5 separate regions of the Homo sapiens genome follow, and all the other regions are linked to region 1. Evidence: promoter capture Hi-C in 16 types of primary human blood cells and fetal thymus (Javierre and others, 2016). All regions are on one chromosome and are shown on one strand. The core of a region is centred on a gene start or on the middle of the fragment in contact, and the rest is flanking DNA. Distances in the headings are between cores, read along the strand shown.

The links. The method cuts DNA at HindIII sites, captures the fragments that hold promoters and counts their contacts. A CHiCAGO score of 5 or more calls a contact.
Region 2: a contact is called between a fragment that was not itself captured here and the fragment with the promoter of SLIT1-AS1 in region 1, in 1 of 17 cell types (erythroblasts). The highest score is 5.8, in erythroblasts.
Region 3: a fragment that was not itself captured here is called in contact with the fragment with the promoter of SLIT1-AS1 in region 1 in 1 of 17 cell types (erythroblasts); the score reaches 5.5 in erythroblasts.
Region 4: a fragment that was not itself captured here is called in contact with the fragment with the promoter of SLIT1-AS1 in region 1 in 1 of 17 cell types (naive B cells); the score reaches 5.2 in naive B cells.
Region 5: a fragment that was not itself captured here is called in contact with the fragment with the promoter of SLIT1-AS1 in region 1 in 2 of 17 cell types (erythroblasts and naive B cells); the score reaches 5.7 in erythroblasts.

Annotation. Positions count from the first base shown.
Region 1 is chr10:97,099,320-97,104,428 of GRCh38, reverse strand. SLIT1-AS1 (SLIT1 antisense RNA 1) reads right to left here and starts at 1,673. Exons shown (of 3, transcript NR_038330.1): 1 at 1,319-1,673; 2 at 938-1,109; 3 at 682-843. All of the region lies in intron 4 of SLIT1 (slit guidance ligand 1), which reads left to right. RefSeq lists enhancers at 2,301-3,163, 3,164-4,028. The HindIII fragment of the contact is 6,968 bases long and covers 923-5,109 here.
Region 2 is chr10:96,426,101-96,431,623 of GRCh38, reverse strand. TLL2 (tolloid like 2) reads left to right here. Exons shown (of 21, transcript NM_012465.4): 5 at 2,876-2,993. Among named protein-coding and RNA genes, the nearest start is that of OPALIN, 70 kb to the right of the region's middle. The HindIII fragment of the contact is 717 bases long and covers 2,249-2,965 here.
Region 3 is chr10:96,363,186-96,368,460 of GRCh38, reverse strand. It overlaps TLL2 (tolloid like 2), which reads left to right. Exons shown (of 21, transcript NM_012465.4): 21 at 239-3,853. The coding sequence ends at 373. Among named protein-coding and RNA genes, the nearest start is that of OPALIN, 6.8 kb to the right of the region's middle. The HindIII fragment of the contact is 327 bases long and covers 2,928-3,254 here.
Region 4 is chr10:96,380,234-96,385,269 of GRCh38, reverse strand. It overlaps TLL2 (tolloid like 2), which reads left to right. Exons shown (of 21, transcript NM_012465.4): 16 at 503-683. Among named protein-coding and RNA genes, the nearest start is that of OPALIN, 24 kb to the right of the region's middle. The HindIII fragment of the contact is 4,209 bases long and covers 1-3,533 here.
Region 5 is chr10:96,403,035-96,408,563 of GRCh38, reverse strand. It overlaps TLL2 (tolloid like 2), which reads left to right. Exons shown (of 21, transcript NM_012465.4): 10 at 3,230-3,332. Among named protein-coding and RNA genes, the nearest start is that of OPALIN, 47 kb to the right of the region's middle. The HindIII fragment of the contact is 784 bases long and covers 3,496-4,279 here.

The sequences.
Region 1 (5,109 bases), core at 424-2,923:
CATCATTTTCTAAATGTAGGTCACTCTTCTGTTTGGAACCCTCTGATGGCTACTGCTTCATCACAGTGATATCCAAAGTCCCTACCCTTGACTACTTTTCCCCTTTCTCACTCCAGCGACCCTGGACTCCTTGCTTTTCCATGAACACTAAGCATATTCCTGCTTCTGGACCTTGGCACTGACTGTTCTCTGTGCCTAGAATACTCCTTCTCCCAGACACCCATGGGGCTCACTCCCTTCTTCCTTTAGGTCTTTGATCAAAGGCCTTCCCTGCCACCTAGAAAAAGGTAACTCCCACTCGGCACCCCCAGTGCTTTTACCCCTCACCTGCTTGATTCTTCTCTGTAGTACTCACCTCCACCCGCTACCCCACAGAATATGAGCTCCACGGGGCAGGGCTGTGTTCCTTGCTGTATCCCCGCCGCAGGAACAAGGCCACCTGATGCACAGGGGTGCTCAGCAGGTAGTTACTGCATGAGTGACTGTTCTGCAGTCTGCACTCCCGCCGTGGGAGTTGCCTGTCATCATCCTCATCTTGCAGACAAGGAAACCAAGTTGAAGGTCAAGTAACTGGCCAAGGTCACCTGCTGGGAATGGCTGGAGACTGCCTACCTCTGACCCTACCGTGTAACCACATCGCCTTGTCATGGTTGTGACTGGGCAACAACACTCACATCTCTGTCCTAGGGGCTGTGTGAGGTTTTTTTCCAGCTTTATTTTGAACAATGTTTTTGTTAGAAGGTACTTCATTCCCAGAGGGTTCATTAATTGAGGGCGTTGCACTTTGAAGAAATCGCTGTCTAACTTGGGTCTGGAAATCACACTGTGCGCTTTTCAGATGTGCTAAAATAAACGTTTAGAGAAGAAAAAAGGAGTCTGATTGTTGTAAAAATTAGGCAGTTTGGGGAGAGAGCTGGAAGCTTGTTAAAATCCTCACCAAGGGGCCTTGGAAGTCGTTACTAAGGAGACCAATGGTGGGTTCCTTTCTGGTTAGCCGGTGGGAGGGCCTCAGGAATTGCTTGGAAGCTGCTGCTGGGAAAAAGAGTGTTGGGGGTTTTCAGCAGATGTGTGGCCCCAACTCCAGCATGGCTTTGTCCTGATCTGTCCTGCTGCAAAGAGAGGGGAAGCAAGAGACCCTGTTTGGATCTTGGAGAAGGCCAGTGGCGTTACCTTACAGCAGCAGAAATGAGGAAGCACCCGACTCCCCATCTCATTGCCCCTCCCAGGCATGCAGCCAGCCCTCTCTTGGACTCCCTGATGTACTCGCACCTATCCCTGCTGAACGCTTGCTATTGGAGAGCTGCCCATACGGTCTCACCTGCATGAGTGAAGCTGCTCATCAGTTCTTCCGTGCACCAAGCCCAACCTGCTGTCCTGGGACTTGTAAACCCTGGTCACCTGGCCTAGATCTGCCTCCCTTAGAGTATTCAGAGAAGCAGTTAGCTTCCCCCTGTGCCCTTGATTTTGATGGTAGCTCAGACTCTGAGCACTTGCCAGGGACCTGGTGATTGCCAGCTTCTCACATTTAGGATCCATGCACATCCTTACATCACAGTGGAGATATGGAAACGAGTTCCAGAAAACTGACCGCACTTGGTCCTGGAGCTGCTAATGAAGAGTGGGCATACAGACCCAGGTTTGTGGGCCCCCAGGCCTTGTGCTCCCTGGACACTGTATATAAGCAGGTCTCCCAACCTGGTGGCTGCACTGTGACATCACACAACAGTGCACATTGAGCTTGCTGTCATCTACGACTCAGTACCCTGAGCTGCTGCTGAGCCAGGCCTCCCCCATCCACCCCGTGACACTATTACAGAGTGATCATGGCAGCATGTCACACACACATCCTGTGAAGGACAGTCTGCGATGGCCTCTGATGGTGTCCAGAGTGAGCTTTGGCAGTCTCTAAGGTTGTCACCTTTGCGTGTCCCTGCAGTGCCTCCCCGCAGTGCCTCACAGCTTTTTTTTTTCTTTTTTCTTTCTTTCTTTCTTTTTTTTTTTTTTTTGACGGAGTCTTACTCATTCTGTTGCCCAGACTGGAGTGTAATGGTGCAATCTTGGCTCATTGCAACCTCCGCCTCCTGGATTCAAGCGACTCTCCTGCTTCAGCCTCCTAAGTAGCTGGGACTACAGGTGCTCGCCGCCATGCTTGGGAATTTTTGTATTTTTAGTAGAGACAGGGTTTCACCACGTTGGCCAGGCTGGTCTTGAACTCCTGACCTCAGGTGATCTACCTGCCTCAGCCTCCCAAAGTGCTGGGATTACAGGCGTAAGCCACCGCGCCCGGCCACCTCACAGGTTTTAACGTGCATCTACATCACCCTGGGATCTTGTGTCAATGCAGGTCCTGATTCAGTAGGTTCAGGAGGAGCCTGATTCTGCTCGTCCAAGCTGCCAGGTGAGGCTGACCCTGCCGGTCCACGACCACCCTTTGAGAAGTGACATTTGATCCCAGGAAAATAGGGATCACCCTGAGGGCAGGATCCCAGCTGGGTTAGGAGCAATTAGTATTTTCCAAGATCCATGACACTCCTGAATTTAATGATAGTCCAGGCCAGTCCCAACAGTGATCAGACCATGGGAGAGATATTTAGTTTTACTGACTGTGACTCAAGAGGCGTTGTGGCTCAACACACCAGACATGCAAACTCATATCCACCCCCAGAGCAGGGCTGGTGCTGCCTGGTACAGGGGCCATGCTTTGGTTGCTCATAGCCAGTCCAGGCTGCTGTCTGAGGCCAGGAGGCATGTGCAGCACATCCTCCCTGGCACAGCTATCAGAGGAGGGCAGGCCCTAAACCCATAACCTGCTGACTGCAATGGCTCTGTGACACGACATTGCTCCCAGCAGCAAGGTGGGCGGGGGCGATGGGAAGAGCACCAGCTAACAAGCTGCGTGAGTCCAGAGAAGGCACTTGACCTCTCTGGGCTTTCTTGTCATCTGCCAGAAGAGAGGGTTGAACATGTTCATGTTTAAATTCCCCCAGGGTCTGATTTCCTTTGTGTGAGCACTCCGCCACTAGGGGTTCTTTGGCTGGCAAGAGAAACTAGAGAAGTTTTGCTTCCAGGAGGGGAGAGGTAAGTACAGCCTTCTGCTCCCCGAGAGGTTGTCCTGGGCGTGAGTGCAGCAGTGTTCTGGGTTGTCTGGGGAGGAGCGCTCCATCCAATAGGAAGAGGAGCCAGGAAGCTGGTTCTGGTGACTCCCTCTCTATTCTCCTCTGCAGACACTCCATCTGTGTCCCCAGGGGGGCCTATGACTCTCTTCCACCTGTATCTGGTCTCCTTGCGAGGCTTCTGAATGTGCCTTTGGGATTTACTCTCCCTCCCTAGTGCTGGGTGGCCTCCACAGTCCCCTTGGGGACACTGGCAACGTTAAGGGCTCAGTGCCAGCAGGAAGGGGTTCAGCTTCATTGATGCACAGAGAGGTCCATTCCCTTACTGTTTTCTGCTCTTGTAGGTGGGCAGACTATACCCATGGGGCCCAAACCGGCCTGCGTCTGCACCGTCCCTAGAAATACGCAGCAGCACTTTTCCTCCCCTCCCTGAGCAAGCCAGGGAGCCCTGTGGCTTCCAGGGCATTTGCCCTTGTGGTCACCTAAGGCCGAGGCAGCGGCGTACCAACGGGTGGCAGTGGGAGCCCCTCCTTGGTGGGGAGCAGTATTGTATCACTGACATGCCTTAAAATTGCCGATGTGTGATGCTAATGAAAATGAACTGACTTTTATTATTGGTTTTATTGTTATGGTCATTATTTTAATGAATGAATAACAATTATTGTTTCAATTTTTTTTTTTTTGAGACAGAGTCTCGCTGTTGCCCAGGCTGTAGTGCAGTGATGCGACTTGGCTCACTGCAGCCTCTGCCTCCCGGGTTAAAGTGATTCTCCTGCTTCAGCCTCCTGAGTAGCTGGGATTACAGGTGTGTGCCACCATGCCTGGCTAATTTTTTTTCTTTTTTTTGTATTTTTTGTAGAGACAGCGTTTCACCATGTTGGCCAGGCTGGACTTGAACTCCTGGCCTCAAGTGATCCTCCTGCCTTGGCCTCCCAAAGTGTTGAGATTACAGGCATGAGCCACTGCACCCGGCCAAAAATTTTATTATTGCTGTACAATCAATGCATCTCTTGCTGGCTGCACACAGGTGAACCACTCCTGCTGTGCCTTCCCTGCGGGGCTGATGGTCCCCTCATCCACTCCCTGCATGCCGGGTCCCAGCTCAGTGACTTGGGAAGGGGCGTATTCATGTCAAACATGTTTCTGAGTCAAAGTCTCTGTGCTGTATCAATCCAAGAGCCAGCAGGAAGGGTCTCCAACACTAGAACACTTCCTGACTCAAATCGTGTGACATCATGTCACTTATTGTCAATGGGGAGATGCCTGGATTCAAATATTATGTCTTCTAGGGTGATGGAAGTGAGAAAATTGGTTCTCTGGCCACACTCTAAGTATATATTGTCAGAAGATTTTAAATACAGATAAGACATTTAATTATTAAATGGCTTTTCAACGTGAGGCTCAAATGGAGCCTTCTAATTAGCTGTCAGTTCTGTCACAGCCATGACTAGTGTGCCCTGGGCTGGCTTCTCTCCTGATTTTCATGTATAAATTCCATTTCATGGTAACCAGACACTGCGGGGGCACTGCCCGGGGTCTCTGGCCTCCCCTGGGCGAGAAGGTACCATAGCTTCCCTCTCCTTCTGGGACTGCCTTTCCCTGCTCCTAGGTCAGGGCAGGGGACCATCAAGCTGGATTTACTCGAAAAGGATAAGTGAAAGGAAAGACTGGAAGCACCCCGCTCCCTGCACACCTGACACACACGTATGTACACATGCAGAGAAAGGGGGCCAGGCCACAGGCAGAGATGGACACTAGGTGAGCCAGCAGCAGCCAGAGACAGACAGATGGACACCTACCCAGATGTACAACAGATCCAGGAGCTTCTCCTCCTGTCCACTGCCTGCTGTCCCCCACCCCCCCAACCTGGAGTCTTTTTCTCTTTGTGCAATTTTGACTTTTAGAAACTCCGAGGTGGCTGCAGCCCCACTCAGCTGTGTTGAGCCTGCTGCTCTGGGTGGCCGACCTGAGGCAGGCCAGCCTGGTGCGGTGGTGC
Region 2 (5,523 bases), core at 1,358-3,857, 670 kb after region 1:
CAGGGCGCGGCACATCCTAGGCAGGTAGCAAATATGCCCACTGCGTACCTGCGGCCAATGTCAATGGAAAGCCTGAGTGACAAGCCATACCGAGAGACTTTCCTGGGCTCTCAGTGCAACTTATAAGTCCTTCCCCTCCCTGTGGCTCTGTGACCTCTACTCTGAGAGGTGGCTGATGAAGGCAGATTCCCTGAGGATTTGCCAAAGCCACTGAGAATCGCTGATGAGTAAGTTAGGGAACGGTGAAGACCTCAGCAGCAGGGCAGCGGAATTCCTGCAGTTCCCTTTCGCTCCCGCAGCATTAACCCACGGCTTCCTAGTGCCAGGTGCTTAATTAGGGATTGGTGGTAAAAAAGATGACTAAGATTTCATCCTGCCTTCAAGGAGGTCTGTTCTCACAGCAGAGAAAGGTGAGTGCCTAAAGAAAAAAAATAGAAATTATAAACCACTACAGACTTTTGTTCCTTGGTATCCTAACTGTGTTCTTTCAGATCTGGTGTGCTTTTCTGACCAAAGATTTATATTACTTTCATCAAAGTTAACTAATTTTATATATAGGAATTTTGTTGACACAAGTATTTCATGTTATTAGATAATTAGTAGGGTTGCTATTTTTGGTGAGCGATTGAGCTATAAACAATTTGAACAAAAAATGTCAAGATGTCAGAAAAAAAATGGACAGTTAAGTTATTCTATTTTTTGTTGTTGTTGTTTGTTTCTTCTTTCTTTCTTTTATTTTTTTGAGACAGGGTCTTACTCTGTTGCCCAGGCTGCAGTGCAGTGGCATGATCACGTCTCACTGCAGCCTCAACCTTCCAGGCTCAAGCGATCCTCCCACTTCAGCCTCCTGAGTAGCTGAGACTACAGGCGTGTGCCACCAAGCCCAGCTAATTTTTTCTTCTTAAGTGTTTGTAGAGACAGGGTTTCACCATGTTGCCCAGGCTGGTCTCAAACTCCTGAGCTTAAGGGATCCACCTGCCTTGGCCTTCCAAAGTGCTGGGATTACAGACATGAATCACCATGCCCAGCTGTTATTCTTTATTCTATATGAATGTTTTTGGGGACAACAATATGATACCATCCCCACATCCTGCAGACAATGATGGGAGCCTCCCCCAGTGCTGTTGTGCTAGTCCATTTGTGTTGCTCTAAAGGAATACCTGAGGCTGGGTAGTTTCTAAGGAAAAGAAGTTTGTTTTGGCTCACGGCTCTGTAGGCTGTCTGAGAAGCATGGTGGCAGCATATCTGCTCCTGGTGAGGCCTCAGGAAGCTTGCAATCATGGCGGAAGGCAACAGGAAGCCAGAACATCACATGGTGGGAGGGAGCAAGAGAGAGGTGGGGTAGGTACCACACACTTTTAAACAACCAAATCTCTCATGAACTCAGAGCGAGAGCTCATTCACCAAGGGGATGGCACTAAGCCCTTCTTGAGGGACCCATCCCCATGACCCAAACACCTCCCACCAGGCCCACCTCCAACACTGGGATTATGTTTCAAAACGAGATCTGAAGGGGACAAACATCCAAGTGATGTCAGCTGTTTTGTTTTGCTTGTAATTTTTGTTTTTGTTTTGCAATGAGGGCCCTGTAGAACTCAGACCTCCAACTCCCACCATCCTTCATACTTCCCAGACAACTATTTTTTCCTAGATCCTTCTCATTGCTTCTAGGAAAATTTAAACAGTCTTCCTTCTAGATTTTGAAAAGAACTGACTGACTATACGTAACTGTCAGCCTGGAGTTTTATTATTCAGCAAATTTCCACTCAAGGAAATACCAAGACAGGTTCAGAGAAAGTATGAAGTTCACCTATTTTCAAAGGCCTGGAAGAAAAATTAGGCTCAAGGATTCCCCACAAGACACTGAAACCCCGTGCAAAAGTACACAGATGTACATGCAAATAGAAATTTTAAAGTGCATGGGAGCACCCCCCTACAGGTCTAAAAGAAAATGAGGGGGCGAAGTGCAGTGCTGGTGAGCTGGAGTTGACTCCCCCCTACTTCAAAAGCCTGCAGTTTCCAAATCGAAAAACCTGGATAAGGTTTTGTAAAAGTTTGGAAAATACTTTCAATACAAAGGAAAATTTGGGAAGCCCAGGATATTTTGAAAATCTATTTTTACCCTCCCTTCCAATCCACAAACTCCTACTCTCTAGGTTTTGGCAGCTCAGAAAAGTTACGTTGTGTTTTTAGCAAGGGAAATCCTGATTCCTGAAAATTCCTGGAGTATTTCTATTCTGAACAAGCTTTTTTTTTTTTTGAAAATATTTAATTGACAAATAAAAATTGTATATATTCAAGGTATACAACATGAAGATTTGATATATTATGTCTCGATCACCATAATCAAATTAATTAGCACATCCATCACCACCCATGCTTACATTGGGGGCTGGTGAGGACACAAAATCTGTTCTTTTATCAAATTTCAAGTAAACAATACAGTATTATTAACAATCTTTTTTTTTAATTGTTGGAACATCCTTTGTCTTAACTCAGCATGCTTTAAAGCATCTAAGGAGGCTGGGTGCCGTGGCTCATGCATGTAATCCCAGCACTTTGGGAGGCTGAGGCTGGCGGATCACCTGAGGTCAGGAGTCAAGACTAGCCTGACCAACATGGAGAAACCCCATCTCTACTAAAAATACAAAATTAGCCGGGCGTGGTGGCACATGCCTATAATTTCAGCTACTGGGGAGGCTGAGGCAGGAGAATCGCTTGAACCCAGGAGGCAGAAGTTGCAGTGAGCCGAGATCGCACTATTGCACTCCAGCCTGGGCAACAAAGGCAAAACTCCGTCTTGAAAGAAAAAAAAAAGCATCTAAAGAAAATATGGACCCATCATTGAAGTCGAGTGCTTGCCCTGTTGTTTCAGGGAGCCAGAGGGCCATTTTTAAGCAGGCCATGAGACACTGGGAGAAGCACACCTGTGTGACCTTCATAGAAAGGACGGATGAGGAAAGCTTTATTGTATTCAGTTACAGAACCTGTGGGTAAGTAAACGAAAGCGAGGCCACCTCTGCAGAATCAGTCGGATGGCTCATGAGTGTTGAATTTTCTCTGTAAACCTAAGTATTTCCAATGAGCTGTTATTTAGAGGAGTCCAGGGTTTGCTAGAAACTTTCTGCCCTTGGTGAAATTACAATCCAGTGGCAAAGCTGATGGGCCAAGAGGAAGATTCCAGGAGACTCCATGAAGACCAGGGGTACTGGCACTAGAAGAGCAACAGAAGGAACTGGTGGTGTGTCATGTGAAGACTTAAGGCAGTGGTTCTTAACCTCTTGGGGTTTGTGTCCCCATTTAGAATCTGATGAAGCGGTGGGCTTTCCTTCTTCAAGAATAGATGAATATGTATGTAAAATTTTGCATTTAATTTGAGGGATTCTACAGGTTTACAAACTTCCTTCAGAAAACATAATATGTAATAAAATGACTGGCTTATGACTAAAGTTATCTGTTATGTCAATAAATATGTATGATATACTTTCCTACTGAAAAGCTTCTCATGTTGGATCAAAAACCCAAACCCGGCCAGGAGCGGTGAGTCACGCCTGTAATCCCAGCAGTTTGGGAGGCTGAGGTGGGCAGATCACCTTAGGTCGGGAGTTCCAGACCAGCCTGACCAACAATGGTGAAACCCCATCTCTACTAAAAATACAAAATTAGCCAGGTGTGGTGGCACATGCCTGTAATCCCAGCTACCTGGGAGGCTGAGACAGGAGAATCGCTTGGAGCTGGGAGGCAGAGATTGCAGTGAGCCGAGATCCCGCCATTGCACTCCAGCCTGGGCAACAAGAGCAAAACTGCATCTCAGAAAGAAAACAAAACAAAACAACAACAACAAAAAAAACCAAACCCAACTACATGGTCTATACATAAGATGATTACTGAATAAAACAACCTAGAGAGGTTTAAAAGTAAAAGGAAAGAAGCCATACAGGTAAATGCTAACAAAAAGAAAGCTGGGATCACAATTTTAGTCATTGACTAGGTTTTCATTGTTTTGTTGTTTTTGTTTTTAAAGTCAGAAAATGTTAAAAGCTGAGACACTTTATAATGAGAAAGGGTATAAGGGACAGTGAGAATATAACTGTCATAAGTCTTCATGCACCAAATAGCATAGCATCAAGAGTCATAAAACAAGCCCCAGGGAATTCAAGGGGAAATTGACAGAAATGCTCAGTAGCACGAGACTTAATTCATTTCTGTCAGCCCAAGTAAGTCAGTGTCACGTTGACCAAAAAATAAGTAGAGATTCACAGAGGATTTGAAAAATACAGTTAATAGAGTTGATTCTATAGGTCTATCAGATTCTATAACCTCATAACACATTTTTTTAAATGGCCCATCTATTAAGCATTAAGAACATCTTAACAAATTCTTAAAGGCAGAAATAGCATTAAGATATTTTCTGATTGCAAAGCAGTGAAACTGGACATAACATAATAACAAAAATAGAATAAACATTAGCTGGTAAGTTAAAAGTCCCCCCATGCTTCCATTTTTATGGCTCTTAGGTCATAAAAACAGCAAGATTAAAATTGCAGAATGTCTAGGTAATGAAAGCCCTATGGTTCAAAATAAAAGAGATATAGCTAAAGCTATGTCTGGACAAAAGCCCACAGACTTAAGTATCCACATCACCCGTTGACAATAGTGACAATGAAATATTCAATTCAAAGAAGCTAGTAAAAATAAATACTTACAACCCACCACCATCACCACAACAAAATAAACCTAAGGAGAGCACAAGGAAACAGACAAGGTGAAACATTACAGAGCTAACAAATTCAAGAGTAAATTATTTGAATAAACAAACAAACAGAAAACAACAGATAAACCACTTGTTAGTTTAATTGAGACAAAATATGATTACATAGAAATACATAAGATTAGAAATGAAAATGGGAGAAATAGCCACAGATTCAGCAGAATCACAAAGGAGTAGTTTGCAAAACTCTAGGGCAAGAAGTGTGAAAATGTGGATAATGTGAAAGTCTTCAAGGTAAAAATAAAGTACTGGTACAGACCAAGAACTTTGAATGAAATTGAAGAACGGAGGGAAAAAGCCATCTCCCACAAAGCACCAGACCCAGAGTTTCACAGGTGAATTCTTTCAAAACTTCAAAAACAGATTATTCTGGTATACTTAAACTTTTTAGAGCATAGAGAAAGATGAACGCTTTCAAATTACTTTTGAGGAACTGTTATGGCATTGCTACCTTGAAATGAAAAGGATGGCACCAAATAAATAGAGAAAGAAAGGAAAACATGATAAAAAAGATAAGAAAGAAAAAATTATAGACTCATCTCACATGTGAATAGCCATGCAAAATCCTAAATAAAATGTTAGCACATAGAATTCGGCAGCAGAAGAAAAGAAGAGGAGACTGCCAAATACATTTATCTAGGGAATACAAGATTAGTTCAACATTAGGAAATCTATTCTCAAGATTGATTGGTCAAAGAAGAGAAGCTATATTCATATCTCAATAGATGCTAAAAGGCACCTGTACAATACAA
Region 3 (5,275 bases), core at 1,842-4,341, 740 kb after region 1:
ATAGATTCTATATGAGCTATGCACCTAGGATCATCTTTGGAAGAGCAGGGCCTGCAAAGCTCCCTGGAGCAGAATTTGCAATGTTTTCTTTTGAAAAGGAGCTTGTTTGGATGCCCTTCAGAGTCTCTGGTACCAGAGACACATCCTGTGTCCTTGCATAAGATCCTGTCCCATCCTCCTCATTTTCAACTCCAATCACAGCTAAAGTCCTTCTCGTTTCCCTTTCTCCTTTCCTCAGCCATTAGAAGAAATCTACTCTGCAGGTGATTCCCTGATGATTCGATTCCGCACAGATGACACCATCAACAAGAAAGGCTTTCATGCCCGATACACCAGCACCAAGTTCCAGGATGCCCTGCACATGAAGAAATAGTGCTGATGTTCTTGAAAGACAGAAACTGAGAATTTTTTTTGTTTTGTTTTGTTTTTAACAACAATAGCACCTTGAAAATCTGCCCTAAAACAGTGTACAGTATTTTTCTCAAACAAAAACTCAGAATCCAGCCTTAGAGGTATATATTTGAATGAAAGTCTTGTAAGTTTGGCCAACAAGGTGGAGAGAAAAATGTTCTTTTGCTTCTGTCTGCAATGTTATCATTCATGAACTGTTAAAGTGTTAAAGATTAGGATTGAAGTCACTGACCATTCCGGCTATGCTTCTTCATACCATTCTCCTTGTCCCTTGCTCCTATGTGGCAAAAGGTCAGCCTTGGGGTTGGCCGTTCCTCTAATCTGGACTTGCTTGCAAAGGTGCCAGGCTGTCTTCTGTCCATGTTGGGCATAAGGGATGAAAACTTGGCCGAGACTAATGTGTGGCCCACAGCTTTGGCTGGAATCATTTTCTTTCTCTCTGCCAGGGACATGTCAACCAAGAAACCTGAAAATATGGATGGATGTCAGGACTAAAAAAAGGCATCACAGTGAGCAGTGAGCACAGAGGGAGTTTCGAGTATAAGAATCATTGTCATGAAGTTAGGAGACCACAAAGCCATTTCTCAGAGTCATTCACTCTCCTTGTCCCTTTGGTTTCCCCCCCTCCCTAATTGCAGTGGGGGCTAAGGCATCCATTATGAATACAGCAGAACATTTGCTGGCGAGAGTCCTGTCTGCTGAGAAGACAATATTGTGGCTCGTCCTGATATTTTTTTCATTCATTGACTTTGAGAAGACTCCACCTGTGCTTGGAATTCCATGGGCTTCAAAGAACATTTCTTCTTTTAGCTTTGGAGGCACTTGCCGTGGCACACCTGGACTCCTTGACATCCAATTCAAACTGCATTTGCAAAATGTGCAAAGACCTCTTATGAGGGACCAATTCAGGTCCCTTATGGGGTGAACACTGTTGAAGACTGGTTAATTATAAGTTATGTAAGAATCATCGCCTTGTGGAACAAGTCAATCAGTGACTAGCTTCCTGTAGCCAATCAGGTTAAAGAGTGCGTTGGTAACTTTGCTCTGATTAACTAGTATTCAATCACCAACTTGCAAACAGAATTCATAACACTTGGCACTTGTTCTAGAGAAGTGTAGAGGATGATGTTTACATAATTTTAGCACCTCAAGGTATAATTTAAACAGTGAGGTAGTTTTGAATGGCATTTCATTAAGGCATCTATGGGCATTATGAGCTAAAAGCTGTGGTATGTTAGCTTTAAAAGAGTATTTATGTTGGAATAATTTTTAAATAATGTTTACATAACTGTAAGTCCTGTTTGGTTGTTGTTGGACGCAGGGCGGCACATGAGTGTTTTTGGTTAGAGCCAAGATAGCTCCCATGCACCGGAATTCCTTTGGGATGAATCAGCATCATTTTAAACAAAGTATATGTAAAAGGTGAAAGGTTATATTTTTTACAGATCAGAATGTGGCACCAGAGGACTGTGTCTCATTAAAGTGATTGCTGGGAGCAAAAACTAGAATGATACAAAGAAAGGTCAGAGAAATGCATGGGAATATTTTTTCCTTAAAACAGAAAAAAATTAAAGTATTATTAATAATATATGTCTGTATATATGTATGTATGTAAAAGATCAGCTGTCAAAGCCTTAATCAATGCAGTGTGGAAAATGCCAACCCCTGGTCCTCGCTTTACTGTGGGCCCTGCAGGACTGGCTCTCCATTTCCTGCCTCTCCTTTCACCAAGCTCTGTTTTGGCCTTTCTCGGCCCTGGACTGAGGCTCAGCCTACACGCTCATATTGTGCATATGGCAGACCCTGCCCAGCGTGCGCTTTGATACAGCAAATGGAGCAGCTGACCTCATGGCTCCAATCCCACCTGCCTGTTAGGGTAGATTCCATTTATCTGATTTTTGTATTTTCTGAGGTTTTATTTGGTCTCATCTTGTCTATGAGAGTTGAAACTGGAACTGGGAAACCTAAGATGGGTGTTATGGTTCTTTCTCCAAGGAAATAAAAATTCTGCAGTTTTAACCTTTAGAAGTCTAAGCAAGATTAACAAATTTCATAGAAAAGTGGGAGGGAGTCAGAAACAGAGTTGGTGCTGCTCAGCAGGACGGTGAAACAATGATACTTCTTTTTATCTCTTTAGTATGAACATTTTCAAAAACACACAGCTTCAACAATTGTCACCATATGGCCAATTTGCAACAATGGGACTCTTATGAAAAACCTTTATTTAGGCCTTCTGTGTGACGTATCCACAGAAAAGAGAAGCTCTGATTCAGCTGGGGCTAGCTGGGCCGCTCCTCTGGAAGCCCACACTTGTGGGGACTTAGGCATGACACAGGTTCTTGCAAAGAAACTAGAGGCTGGCTTCACTAGAGAGAGTCCATTCAGCAGAAAGTCCCAGGCCTCTGCCTTGGTGCTTCCAATTATCAGTGACCTGCCTGCAAGCATCCCCAGAAGCAAACAGCAGAGGTAGAAGATATCACTGCAGCCTGCTTTGTGCTTTAATTGGGTACCAAGCTTTGGGGATGACAGTGAGTTGCAAGAATAGTTTTAGTTCAGAGAATTGTCTTAGGACAACAGGCTAATGAAGGATTTGGGGTCTGGGTTTTTAGCCTGGCTCCGTTCTGGTGTAACCCGGTCTAGCAAAAGCTAAGCCTGGATTGCAGGGCAGGAAAAAATCTGGAATTAACTTTAGCCAGTGGAATTTCTTCAAACAGAGAAAGAGAGGCTGTTCATTGATCCACTATTCCCTCTATTTTCCTCTAAGGTAAATATTTAGAGGTATTTACCTGTAAGGTGAAGTTTCCTTTTTATTTCTACTTTACAATTTCTCTCTAAAGCAAGCTTGTCCAACCCTTGGCCCAGGACGGCTTTGAATATGGCCCGACACAAATTCGTAAACTTTTTAAAAAACATTGTAAGATTCTTTCTGTGATTTTTTTTTTTCTCGTCAGCTATCGTTAGTGTATTTTATGTGTGGCCCAAGATAATTCTTCTTCCAATGTGGCCCAGGGAAGCCAAAAGATGGGACACCCCTGCTGTAAAGTTTCATATCACTCATGAATTGCTCAGCTGATTTAAATAATTTGTAAAATCCTGCTAACTAGCAAATTCACATTGAGATTTTCTATTGATTGGGTCCCTTTGATAGCTTTCAGATTGGTATTGTTAGCGTTCCATTTGTGAACAAATGTTCCCTTGGCTTTAGCAGATGTTTTTAAAGTTTCTTTTGTAGACCGAACTTCTGAAGAGTAATACCAAATGCCTAAAATTTTATTTTTAAAAAGGAAAATTGTTTAAAGTATTATATGTAAACATATGGGTATTTTTTATTTTGTGTAATTTTACATTTCATGAAATGATGTCAGTTTCAAAGAGAAAGTGGAGAGGACCTAACATATGTCTCTACCTAGAACGGATGGTTTCATTAAAGAATGTGGATTTATTGATGTGTCTTGGGTTTGTATTGCTAATTCAGACCAGATGGGTCCTTTTAGTGCTAATTTTCTCCAATATCACAAGAGCTTGGGAGAGAGTACTAAAAGGGGGCCCTTCTCTACAGCCTTCCACTCTCTGGTTAGTATCCAAGTACTCCAGAACAGAGTTCACTAATGGACCCAGAAAGTCATGAGCAAAGCTAAAGATGGCTTTCAAATTTGTTCCCTTTCTTACACCAAAACAAGCTGAAAATCTTACAACCTAATTGTGAAGATGTCTGCTGCCGAAACCATCCAGATGTGGTAGACATCTTCCATTTGCCCCTCAGCTCCCATCGCCACCCTCCTCTATCTGGACATTTGTCTGAGGACTACATCTGACACCCGAGACTGAAGGTTATGGCTCCCAGTAGGTGAACACTACTGGGAGTGTTCCAGGCCTCCCCACTGGGGGCCCTGGAAGTTCCTCCTTCCACTTTCCACTTCAGGCTTAGGGGTGGTAATGACACCCTGCTTGTCTAACCTTGGGGTACTGCACTTCCCTCAAGGGAAACCTTTATAGGTAGTCATTTTAATAAACACTTTTCAAATGTAGTAATGAGTGTACATTACTTGTCTCCTGCAGGGAACCTGACTGATACAGGGTTATTTCTAACACAAAGACAGGGACTCCATCTGATAAGGGACACCCTCTTCAGGTTGATTAGATGAAGAGGCTTTGGGGTATGTTTGGAGTTTTGTGGGTTATATTACAGAACGGTAATTATACAACTGTGTTTTTAGAAGCACTCAGATTGCTCTCAGTGCAAAATCCTTTAACACATGCAGTTGTTTTGTGCTATACATAGTCTCAAGATTTTGACTTTTCTGCCCATTTGCAGTCACCAATTACATAGAGTTGATAGATAAATAATTGATAGATGATAAATAGATGATATAGGTAGATAGGTAGATAGATAGATGATAGAAAAAGAGAGAAAAAGAAAGAAAGAGAAAAAGAGACAAAGAAAAAGAAAGAATGAAAGAAGAAAGAACAAAAAAGGAGAAAGAAAGGAAGAAAGAAAGAAAGGAAAGAAAGAGAAGAAAGACAGAAAGAAAGACAGACAGAAAGAAAGAAAGCAGGCTATAGATCTTCAGCAAGGTTTATCTTCTATAGCTAACGGTGAGTCCCAGTGGTGCAAGGGCATGAATGCTGGTATATCAGTCAGCATGGGCTAGCTTATGCTGCAACAACTATCCCCCAAATCTCAGGGGCTTTATATAAGATTTATTTCTTGTCCACACTACACATTCATTTCTGGTCATCTGGAAACTCTTCCATATCATCCTCAGTCAGGACCAGGCTGATGAAGCAGCAGCATCAGAACATTGCTGGGTTTTATAATACAGGGAAAGAAAGGGTGGCACATGACACACTGGCTCTTAAAACT
Region 4 (5,036 bases), core at 180-2,679, 720 kb after region 1:
TAGCTCCACCACTGCTGAGCTATGTGACTTCAGACAAATGTCTTTCCCCCTCTGAGCTTGTTTCCCTGCCTGAAAATGGAGTCAGATTCTGTCGGTGGTTTGCAGGATTTTCCTCCTCCTCTTCCTCTTGCTTCTCCCTCATCCTCTTCTCCTTATTTTTCTTCTCCTTCTAGCAGTGGGGCCCTTTCTTCAAGTAAAATTTCATGTGGAAGCCTAATATATAAAATAAATTAAAGCAAGGCTACAATTACGGGGATGCAGGTTTGGGAGCCCTGTGCTCTTGTGCCAGGCGATGGCACCCCCACAGAGCCTCAGTGGGAGAGCCAGGGGTCCCCCTGTGCCCTCTGGAGCTCATTCAAATAACCGGCGTAGCAAGAGTCAAGGGACCCTCCCCCGCCACACACGGTAGGGTGAGGCGCTCAGGAAGCAGGTGCAGCAGTGTGCTGGGGGTCTGGGGTGGGGACAGGGACTCTGGGAAGCTCCCCATCATGCTCCCTTGCAGGTCTGTAAGTACGACTTTGTAGAGGTGCGCAGCGGCCTGTCCCCCGACGCCAAGCTGCACGGCAGGTTCTGCGGCTCTGAGACGCCGGAGGTCATCACCTCGCAGAGCAACAACATGCGCGTGGAGTTCAAGTCCGACAACACCGTCTCCAAGCGCGGCTTCAGGGCCCACTTCTTCTCAGGTATGCGGGTTCAGAGGTGAGGCTGATGCAGCGCGAGTGAGGCGGCTTTGCAGACTCCAGGCTCTGGGGTCCCTGGCCCCCTCCTCTCTCTCTTTGCTTGCTCCTGCATCCCTCCAGGTATGGCTGCCTTGGAGGGGGCGTGCCAGATCCAGGGCTTTTATATATCTATTGGTGGCTGTGTTAGTTTCCTAGGGCTGCCATAACAAATTACCACAAACTGGTTGGTTTAACACAACAGAATCTTATTCTTACAGTTCTGGGGGCCAGAATTCCAAAATCCAGGTGTTCGCAGGGCCATGCTGCCTCGGAAAGTTCTAGGGTAGAATCCCTCCCTGCCTCTTCCTAGCCTGTGGTGGCTCCCAGCAGTCCTTGGCATTCCTTGCCTTGTAGCTGCATCATCCTGATCTCTGTCTCCATCTTCACATGCCCTTCCTTCTTCTCTGGGTCTCTGTGTCCCCTCCTTTTCCTAGAAGGACTCCAGTCATTGGATTTAGGGTTGATCCTAAATCCAAGATGATTTCATCTCAAGATTCTTAACTAATAGTTCTGCAGAGACACTATTTCCAAGTAAGATCACATTCTAAGGTTCCACATTGTATTAGTCTGTTTTCACAACATACCTGAGACTGAGTAATTGATAAAGAAAAAGAGGTTTAGGCCGGGCGTGGTGGCTCATGCCTGTAATCCCAGCACTTTGGGAGGCCGAGGCGGGCAGATCACTAGGTCAGGAGTTCTAGACCAGCCTGGCCAACATGGTGAAACGCCGTCTCTACTAAAAATACAAAAAAAAAAAAAAAAATTAGCCGGGCGTGGTGGTGTGTGCCTGTAATCCCAGCTACTCGTGAGGCTGAAGCAGGAGAATCGCTTGAACACAGGAGGTGGAGGTTGCAGTGAGCCAAGATGGTGCCATGGCATTCCAGCCTGGGTGACAGAGCAAGACTCCATCTCGGGGCAAAAAATAAAAAATAAAAAATGAAGAAAAAGAGGTTTAATGGACTTACAGTTTCACATGGCTGGGGAGGCCTCACAATCATGGCAGAAGGCAAAGGCATGTCTTACATGGCTGCAGACAATACAGAATGAGAGCCAAGTGAAGGGGGAAACCCCTTATAAAATCATCAGATCTCGTGAGACTTATTCACCACCACAAGAACAGTATGGGGGAAACCGCCTCCATGATTCAATTCTCTCCCACCGGGTTCCTCCCACAACACGTGGGAATTATGGGAGCTACAATTCAAGATGAGATTTGGGTAGGGACACTGCCAAACCATATCACACATGAACAGGAATTTTGGGAAGACACTACTAAACCCACTACAGCAGCACATTGGACCCTACTTCTCAAACTGAAGGCCATGAACCCTCAGGGCCAGTACAGCAGCTGTAGAAAAAGCCCATTCTCCTTAGCGTGGCATGTGGTGCTGGACACTGCCTTGGCCCACCTGTTCTGCCAGCCACATTCCCTCTGCAGGTGCCCTGTGCTCTGATCACGAATAATCCCCCCACTGTTCCCCCACACCATCACCTTCTACTCCTAAACCCCCATCCCATTCTGTCTTCATACCCTCTGCCTGTGGCGTTCCCTCTCCCTGGAATATCCTTCTTCCCTCCCTCCTTAGGAAACTCCTACTTCAACCTGAAGACCCACAATGCCACTTTCTGTAACATTCTCTGGCTTCGTCTTATTCCTCTATCTTAGTCCATTTTGTCTGGCTTCGTCTTATTCCTCTATCTTAGTCCATTTTGTGCTGCTATGACAGAGTACCACAGACTAGGTAATTTATAGTGAACAGAAATGTATTTGGCTTATGAATCTGGAGGCTGGGAAGTCCAAAATCAAGGGGGAACATCTGGCAAATGCCTTCTTGCTGTGTCATAACAAGGTGAAAGGCACCACATGGGTGAGAAAGAGCGGCAAGGGGGTCAAACTCATCCTTTGTCAGGACGCCACTCCTGCAATAATGAGCTCTCATGACCTAATCACATTTAAGGGCCTCATCTCTCAACACTGTTGCATTGGGGATTAAGTTTATAACACATGAACTTTGGGGGACCCATTCAAACCGTAGCACCCTCTTAGCACATTGATTGTTCTTTTACCAGTGTTCCCATAGCACTCTCTCCTTCCCTTCCATTAGGGCTCTTGTCACCAGGGGCCAGCTCCATGGGCCTGTGGCCTGTGCAATAGCACAGAGCCTGTTCTCGGAAGGGCCCACACTAATTTAAGGTTCTGTTGTCATCATCTTGAAATTCATGGCCGGGCATGGTGGCTCATGCCTGTAATTCCAGCACTTTGGGAGGCCAAGGCGGGTGGATCACGAGGTCAAGAGATCGAGACCATCCTGCCCAACGTGGTGAAACCCCGTCTCTACTAAAAATGCAAAAAATAAGCTGGGCGCGCTGGCGCATGTGTAGTCCCAGCTACTCGGGAGGCTGAGGCAGGAGAATCGCTTGAGCCAGGGAGGCAGAGGTTGGGTGACAGAGCAAGATGCCGTCTCAAAAAAAAAAAGAAAGAAATTCATAATAGTGTTTCAACAAAGTGCAAATCTTGCACTGAGCCTTGCAAACTGTGTAGCAGGTCCTGCATGTCACGTCATATTAGAGGGTGAACTGTTTACAAGCAGGAACTGTACTTTGGTTATCTTTATAGTCTTAATGCTTGGCATAGAAATGACCCAATTATTTGTTGATTTTATAGATACCCAGAGTTCCATCTCCATGCATTTTTTTTTTGGCAGTCTCTCACTGAGCAAGTCATGTTTTTTGTTTTGAGTGTCTGCTGTGGGCACAGTACACTACTAGGCTCAGAGCTGCTGCCAGGGAAATGACCCCAACCCTGGACAAGCTTACATGCCAGCTAGGGAGCCAGGAATACACACCCTGCTAAGTCCCAGCCTGGAGCACTGTGGGGTGGGCTGGTGCAACAAGGGCTAATGTTTGAAGAAGAGAAGCCCATGGTTGCCTGGAGCAGTGGGTGAAGACTTTTTGCAGGATTTGGGGTGGTCTAAGCCAGGTTTTAAAGGATGGAAGACATGGAGGTGGAGATAGGATGATTAGAGAGAAAGTAATCAGGGTCCCCAGTAGGGGAGGCAGTGTGAGCACAGGTTAAGTTCTCAACAGAGCACAGAGACAGAGATGAGATGGGCCTGCATGGAGCCCTGACCCATGCTGGGAAGCCAAGGGCACGAGATGGGCCAAGTTGGAGAAGGCCAGGTCATGAGGGACCTTAAACGCTGGGCTGAAGAGTAGGGACCCGATGAAACAGGAAGGGGGACTGTTTGCAGGTTCTTGAGCAGGGGAAGCCTAAACTTGTCATCTGACCAAGCCATGCCAGGCAGTGTAGAGCTGGGAGGGCCAGGCGGCTGGAGGACCAGGGCAGCAGGGCAGGGGGCAGGAGCCACCTCAGAGGAGGATGTAGCAGAGCCTCACAGGCAGGGCAGCTCCACATTTGCAATAGGAAACTAGAGCACAGGGAAGAGGATCAGAGCAGGGGTGAGGACCTGTGAGTCATCTGCAGAAGGACTTGGAGGAAGGAAGGGAGAGAGGTGGGTCAGTGCTGGGTGTTGGGCGGCTTCATCTCTTCTGCATTCTTTTTTTTTTTTTTTGGAGACAGAGTGTCGCTCTTGTTGCCCAGGCTGGAGTGCAATGGCGCAATCTCCGCTCACCGCAATCTCCGCCTCCTGGCTTCAAGCGATTCTCCTGCCTCAGCCTCCTGAGGAGCTGGGATTACAGGTGCTTGCCACCATGCCTGGCTAATTTGTGTCTCGAACTCCGGACCTCAGGTGATCCACCCGCCTCGGCCTCCCAAAGTGCTGGGATTACAGACATGAGCCACCACGCCTGGCCTCTCTTCTGCATTCTTTTTTTTTTTTTTTTTTTTTTTTTTTTTTTGAGATAGAGTCTCGCTCTGTCGCCCAGGCTGGAGTGCAGTGGTGCAATCTCCGCTCACTGCAAGCTCCGCCTCCTGGGTTCATGCCATTCTCCTGCCTCAGCCTCCCGAGTAGCTGGGACTACAGGCGCCCGCCACCACGCCCGGCTAATTATTATTATTATTATTTTTTGTATTTTTAGTAGAGACAGGGTTTCACCGTGTTAGCCAGGATGGTCTCAATCTCCTGATCTCGTGATCCGCCTGCCTTGGCCTCCCAAAGCAAAGGGTCTTTCTTACAAGGGCTCTTAGTTGTCCTGATAACATAAGCAGGTGAAATACATTGTTCAAGGAGACATTAACAATGGTGAACAAGAGCATATAGAGAGGGGAGGAAGACAGGGCTGACCCCTAAAGTCATTCTGGTGATGGCAGGGAAGCAGGGGAGGGAGGCTGATCTTTGGTAAATGCAGGAACAAGTT
Region 5 (5,529 bases), core at 2,638-5,137, 700 kb after region 1:
GGGGAAGAGGAAGAGGTCTGGTAATTTCTAAATTATTGAATTGCTCTGCACAGCAGAGGGTGTGTGATATGTTTGAACTGTGTAAACTTCATCAAGCCTTAATTATTAGTGCTAACTGGGGACAGAGAGAATATACATCATTGAAATTTCTGCACCAATTATTTCCATTTCTGCTTCACCCAGCTTTCCCCAGAGCTGCAAGTAATTAGCAAACTTGATTGATTCGAGTATCACCTCTTGTTCACCACCTCTTTCCCCTATGGTCTTTATGGTTCACTAATGTACTTAAAATAATTAGCCTGAATAATTATCCCATTCATTCAGATCATGAATGTGTTACCAAGGAAGTTGTACTAACATTTCCTTTCTGTAATTTTAAAAAAGCAAAGGCTAAAGAATTATTGTGCAACCAGCTTACAGGTGTTACTAAGCTCTACCACCTGAATATGAGCACGGTGTGGGATAGGACAGAAATCTAAGGCACACCCCTGTCTTAAGACTGTTTATTTTGGGTCCCCCTCCCCCCACTCCCAGGGAATCTGATTTAATGGAAGGAAGGGTGTTTGCTTGGTATGAGCTTTTTCAAAGCTTCAAAGTTGATTTTAATGTGCAAGTAGGGTCGAAAAACACAGTCTAGTTTGAAAGAGGAGTGACAGCGTGCGCACACACATGCACACACACGCACACACGTGTGCGCACACACATGCATGCACATGCTCACACATGCATGCACCCACGCGTGCGCGCACACACACTCAATGACAGAAGGTGAGCTGACCTGTTTTTTCCTGGCACTGACTTCGTTTCCTAGGAGATCGCAGGGCTTTGTGGAAGATGTGATTTGTCCTGAGACGAAACATTGGGTGGGATGGGCCCAAGGGAAGGGATGGGCACTCAACACTAATCAAGATGGGCAGCTTGCGAGGTGTGGTTAGTGTTAGTTGTGGTATGCTAAGTGTACACTCAATGTGGACTACCTGGTATTTTAAGTTGCTATTTATCGAGTGCCTATGGTGTGCCAGGCATAGCAATATACACTCTATATATGGTTTCTCGCACAGTCCCCTCAATAGCACAGTGATGTGTGTATTGTGTTACAGATGAGGAAACTAGAGGGCAAGTATTTCCCCAAGACTCCAGAGCTAGTAGATGGAGCTGAGAAGCAAATCCAGATCTAGGTAGATCTAAAGACACCGGCTCTAGAATCATTATAAGACAGAGGGTGGGGCGTTCCAAAGAGGCAAAGATCAATCGTGTTCATCAGGGCAATCAGACACAGGCTCGAGGAGGGGGACACTTGAGCAGGCCTGGGAAGGGTTTCTCTGACATGGGACTGTCAGGGAACACTGGGAAACAGGTTGCACAGGACAGGCTCTGGGGGTGTGGAAAGTAAGCAGAATTTAATTCATGAGATGGGGGCACAGAGAGCCACTGAGGTTTCCTGAGGGGTTTGGTCAACATGATATATGGGTGGAAGATTGGGAGGGGTCTGGTAAACATGAGATATGAGTGGAATATTGATCTAGAAGCCCCAGTGTGTAGAAAAAATGGGGCCACAGCAGGGAGGAGTCCAGGAATCGTGTGGGAGCAATCCAGGAGGGGGTGAGGCAGGAGGAGCGAGATGGGGTTAGAGGGGAGGGATGCGGATATCTTAAAAAGAGCTGCAGCATGGATGCTGAACAGATATGGGGGATCAACAGTAAGGATGAAGGAAAGATAATACCAAAGCTTGGCTCCTTGACCATCGGGGCAATGGCATCTCCTACAGTGGAGGAGGCTGGAAAGGAAATGCTTTGTTTGGAGGTGCTCTCACCTAGTAGGGAGCGGGAAGGGCAGAGGAGCAAGAGCAGTGGGGAGAAGATAGGCCAGTGTGGTGAAAACCAGAAAGGATAAGCTCTGGGCAGAGGGGTCATGGGGCACAAGGCCAAATAACAGTCCTTTAGATTTGGTGGGGAGGGAATGGGAACCTTTGAGGAAGCCTTCCAGCCTAAGGGTTTACTTAGAGCTAGAGGGCCCCTGGGGCTGTTTGAATATAAAGAAGTGGCTAGTGGAGGGGCAGTGAGTGGAGATGCTGGAGAGAGAGGAACTGCTGAGAGCAAAGTCCTCCGGGGTTGGAAAACGAATAGAGTCAGGGGTGCAGGGGCTGGGTCAGGGCTGGAGATGAGGAAGAGTGGAGACGTGATGGAGCAGGTGTGTGGGGCATGAGGAAAGGTGAGCCTGGGCCAGACAAGCCACTGCACCTCAGGACAGTGGGAGGAGCCACAGGCACCTGGTTTAGTGGAACTTGCGTGGGGGTGAAAGGCCAGGGGAAATCTGAACTCTGCTCTGGGCCATCTGCCAGGGGAGCCCCGAGCTGGTGGGCTGCAGGGGGACCAGAGCCAGTTCACAGGTACAGCACCTGTGTGCTGAGGCCCAGCCCCTGGGACCACCCAGCCCTCCCCTTCCCCCTACTAAGTAGTCACCTATTTGGCCATGGGAGCATCCACTACCTGACCTCAGGGATGTCCAGACAGGGCTGCCAAGATGCTCCTCATGACAATCCCTCTCTTTTCAGTGTTTATACCATAGTGTTCTCATTGGCTTGGCCCATCTGCCTTTCCCCCCTTCTCTGGGCTCCCCAAGGGCAAAGGACCCTGTCTTACTGATCTTTCTATCTCAATTGGCCAGCACAGGCTGACACTCAGAAGGTGGTCAACAAACAATGGTGGAGTGAATGAAAGAATGGACTAACTGTAGGAAGGTCATTAGACACACCACACCTCAGGAGAGTGAGGTCATGGCTGAGGGGAGGTTGATCGCAGAGATGTTCAGATGCACTCGGGCTAACCCCAGACCCTTTGGAATGATTGATGATGTTATAAGATCTTCTTGTATCTCTGAACTTCGCTGACCCCTTACCTCCTTCCAAATCCTCCGTCTCCATGCGCCCTGGCCAGTCTTTTTAATGCATCTCGCTTTCTGTAAACCACCTAGTGACTTCAAAAGCTCAAGTGATTCCCCAGACAGAACCGAAGGACCCATCTCCTTCTGTTTACTCCCCATCCTGCTTAAGGTTTATTATTTAATGTCCTTAGGTTTCCTGTGAGCATGCTTTTGAGACAACACTCCTACCGTGGTCTGAAAGTTCTGCATGCTAAAGGGTAACGTGAGAACACCAGTATGCAAGATATATCTTCCCAAACTCCTCAGGCTTTGCTGCCAAAACTCACTTTATGGTAATTCTTTACAGATCGTATTAAACTTCACATCCATGGATTTGTTTAAAAGCCGACTGTGCTGGTATGATTACGTGGAGGTCCGGGATGGTTACTGGAGAAAAGCCCCCCTTTTGGGTAAGTTGACTTTAGACACCGTTAAGAGAGGAGTGATGGGATGTTCCCCGGGATGCTGTTAATGTCTGGAAGGTCCACCTTGACAGCGGTCACAGGAAACTCTCAAGGGCCTCTGTCATTGTAAAACTCTGAGCACTCCATTTGGCCACACATGTTAAAAGCTTTTAAAACTGCGAATACCCTTTGACCCAGCAATTCCACTTTTTGGAATTCATCCTAGGGAACTAATTAAGGAAGTGTGCAAAGCTCTAGCTACAGGGATGTTCACTGAAGCAGGAAAAATTGCAAGCAATTTAAATGTTCAACAGTAGGGTTTGGCTGAATAAATTATGATCCATCTTTTTAATGGAAAACTTCCCAGCCATTAAAAATGAAGTTGTAGTTGACTACTGATATGGAAAGGTGTTCATGGTACACTGTTACACACAAAAAAGTATGTGACAAAAATAGAATAAGCAGTAGGATTCCATTTTGATTAAAAAATACATTTATGCATTTTATATATATATATATAATGCAGGCATTGCAAATGTAGATGGCTTCAAGGATAACATGTAAATGAAGGAGATGGGATTTGTGTAATAAAATAAGGAGTGGTGGGGGGAGTGTGGTGAACTGAACACCAAATATCGTGTCCAAAATTATTCAAACCAAAATGACTTAAAACATGTGTACAGGCTGAATTAACTAGAAGACACCACTTTGTGATCTGCAATATAAATCTCAAGTAAAATTATAAATATACATAAATAACACACTGGTTATTTCAGGGTGATAGAGTATTTTTTAAATGTATTCTGTTGTTCTTGGTTTAGCTATATTTTCCAGTTTTTCTATGATGAGCGTGTATTGTTTTGGTGAGATGAACAGGGCATGAACTCACCCATGGAAAGTTAGCTTAGAGCTTTGAGTGAGACACAGTGGGCAGGTGGTGTAACAAGAAAGCTTAGTTCACCCCAGAGATGAAGGGGTGGCCTGCCCCTCCACACCTGTGGGTATTTCTAGTCAGGTGGGATGAGAGACTGAGAAAAGAAATAAGACACAGAGACAAAGTATAGAGAAACAACAGTGGGCCCAGGGGACCGGCACTCAGCACACCAAGGACCTGCATCGGCACCGGTCTCTGAGTTCACTCAGTTTTTATTGATTATTATTTTCATTATTTCAGCAAAAAGGAATGTAGTAGGAGAGCAGGGTGATAATAAGGAGAAGGTCAGCAACAAACATGTGAGCAAAAGAATCTATGTCATAATTAAGTTCAAGGGAAGGTACTATGCCTGGATGTGCACGTAGGCCAGATTTATGTTTCTCTCCACCCAAATATCTCAGTGGAGTAAAGAATAACAAGGCAGCATTGCTGCAAACATATCTTGCCTCCCACCACAGGGCAGTTTTTCTCCTATCTCAGAATTGAACAAATGTACAATCGGGTTTTATACCGAGACATTCAGTTCCCAGGGGCAGGCAGGGGACAGTGGTCTTCCTCTATCTCAACTGCAAGAGGCTTTCCTCTTTTACTAATCCACCTCAGCACAGACCCTTTACGGGTGTCGGGCTGGGGGACGGTCAGGTCTTTCTCATCCCACGAGGCCATATTTCAGACTATCACATGGGGAGACAATACCCCGCTTTCAAGGGCAGAGGTGCACTGTGCCCTTGGTTTATTGAGACTAGAGAATGGCGATGACTTTTACCAAGTATACTGCTTGTAAACATTTTGTTAACAAGGCATGTCCTGCGCAGCCCTAGATCCCTTAAACCTCGATTTCATACAACACATGTTTTTGTGAGCTCCAGGTTGGGTCAAAGTAGCTGGGGCAAAGTGTCTGGGGCAAAGCTACAAATTAACAACATCTCAGCAAAGCAATTGTTTAAAGTACAGGTCTTTTCCAAAATGGAGTCTCTTATGTCTTCCCTTTCTACATAGACACAGTAACAGTCTGATCTCTCTTTCTTTTCCCTACATCTCTCGTGGATGACAGGGGAGGTTAGCCTTGCCTAGAGGACCAGTGGCTGCAGTGTCTCGGGAGTAGACACTAGGACTCATTCAGCCCAGGAATGGCAGCCGTGGTGGAGCTGGTGAGACAGGCAGAAGTGACCAGGAGCCAGATGGGAGGGTCTCAGCTGAGAGTGTATTGTCCTCACTCGTAGAGGGGTCTGTAGGGTGGGCTCTGGCTTGGACAAGTCTAAGCGCTCA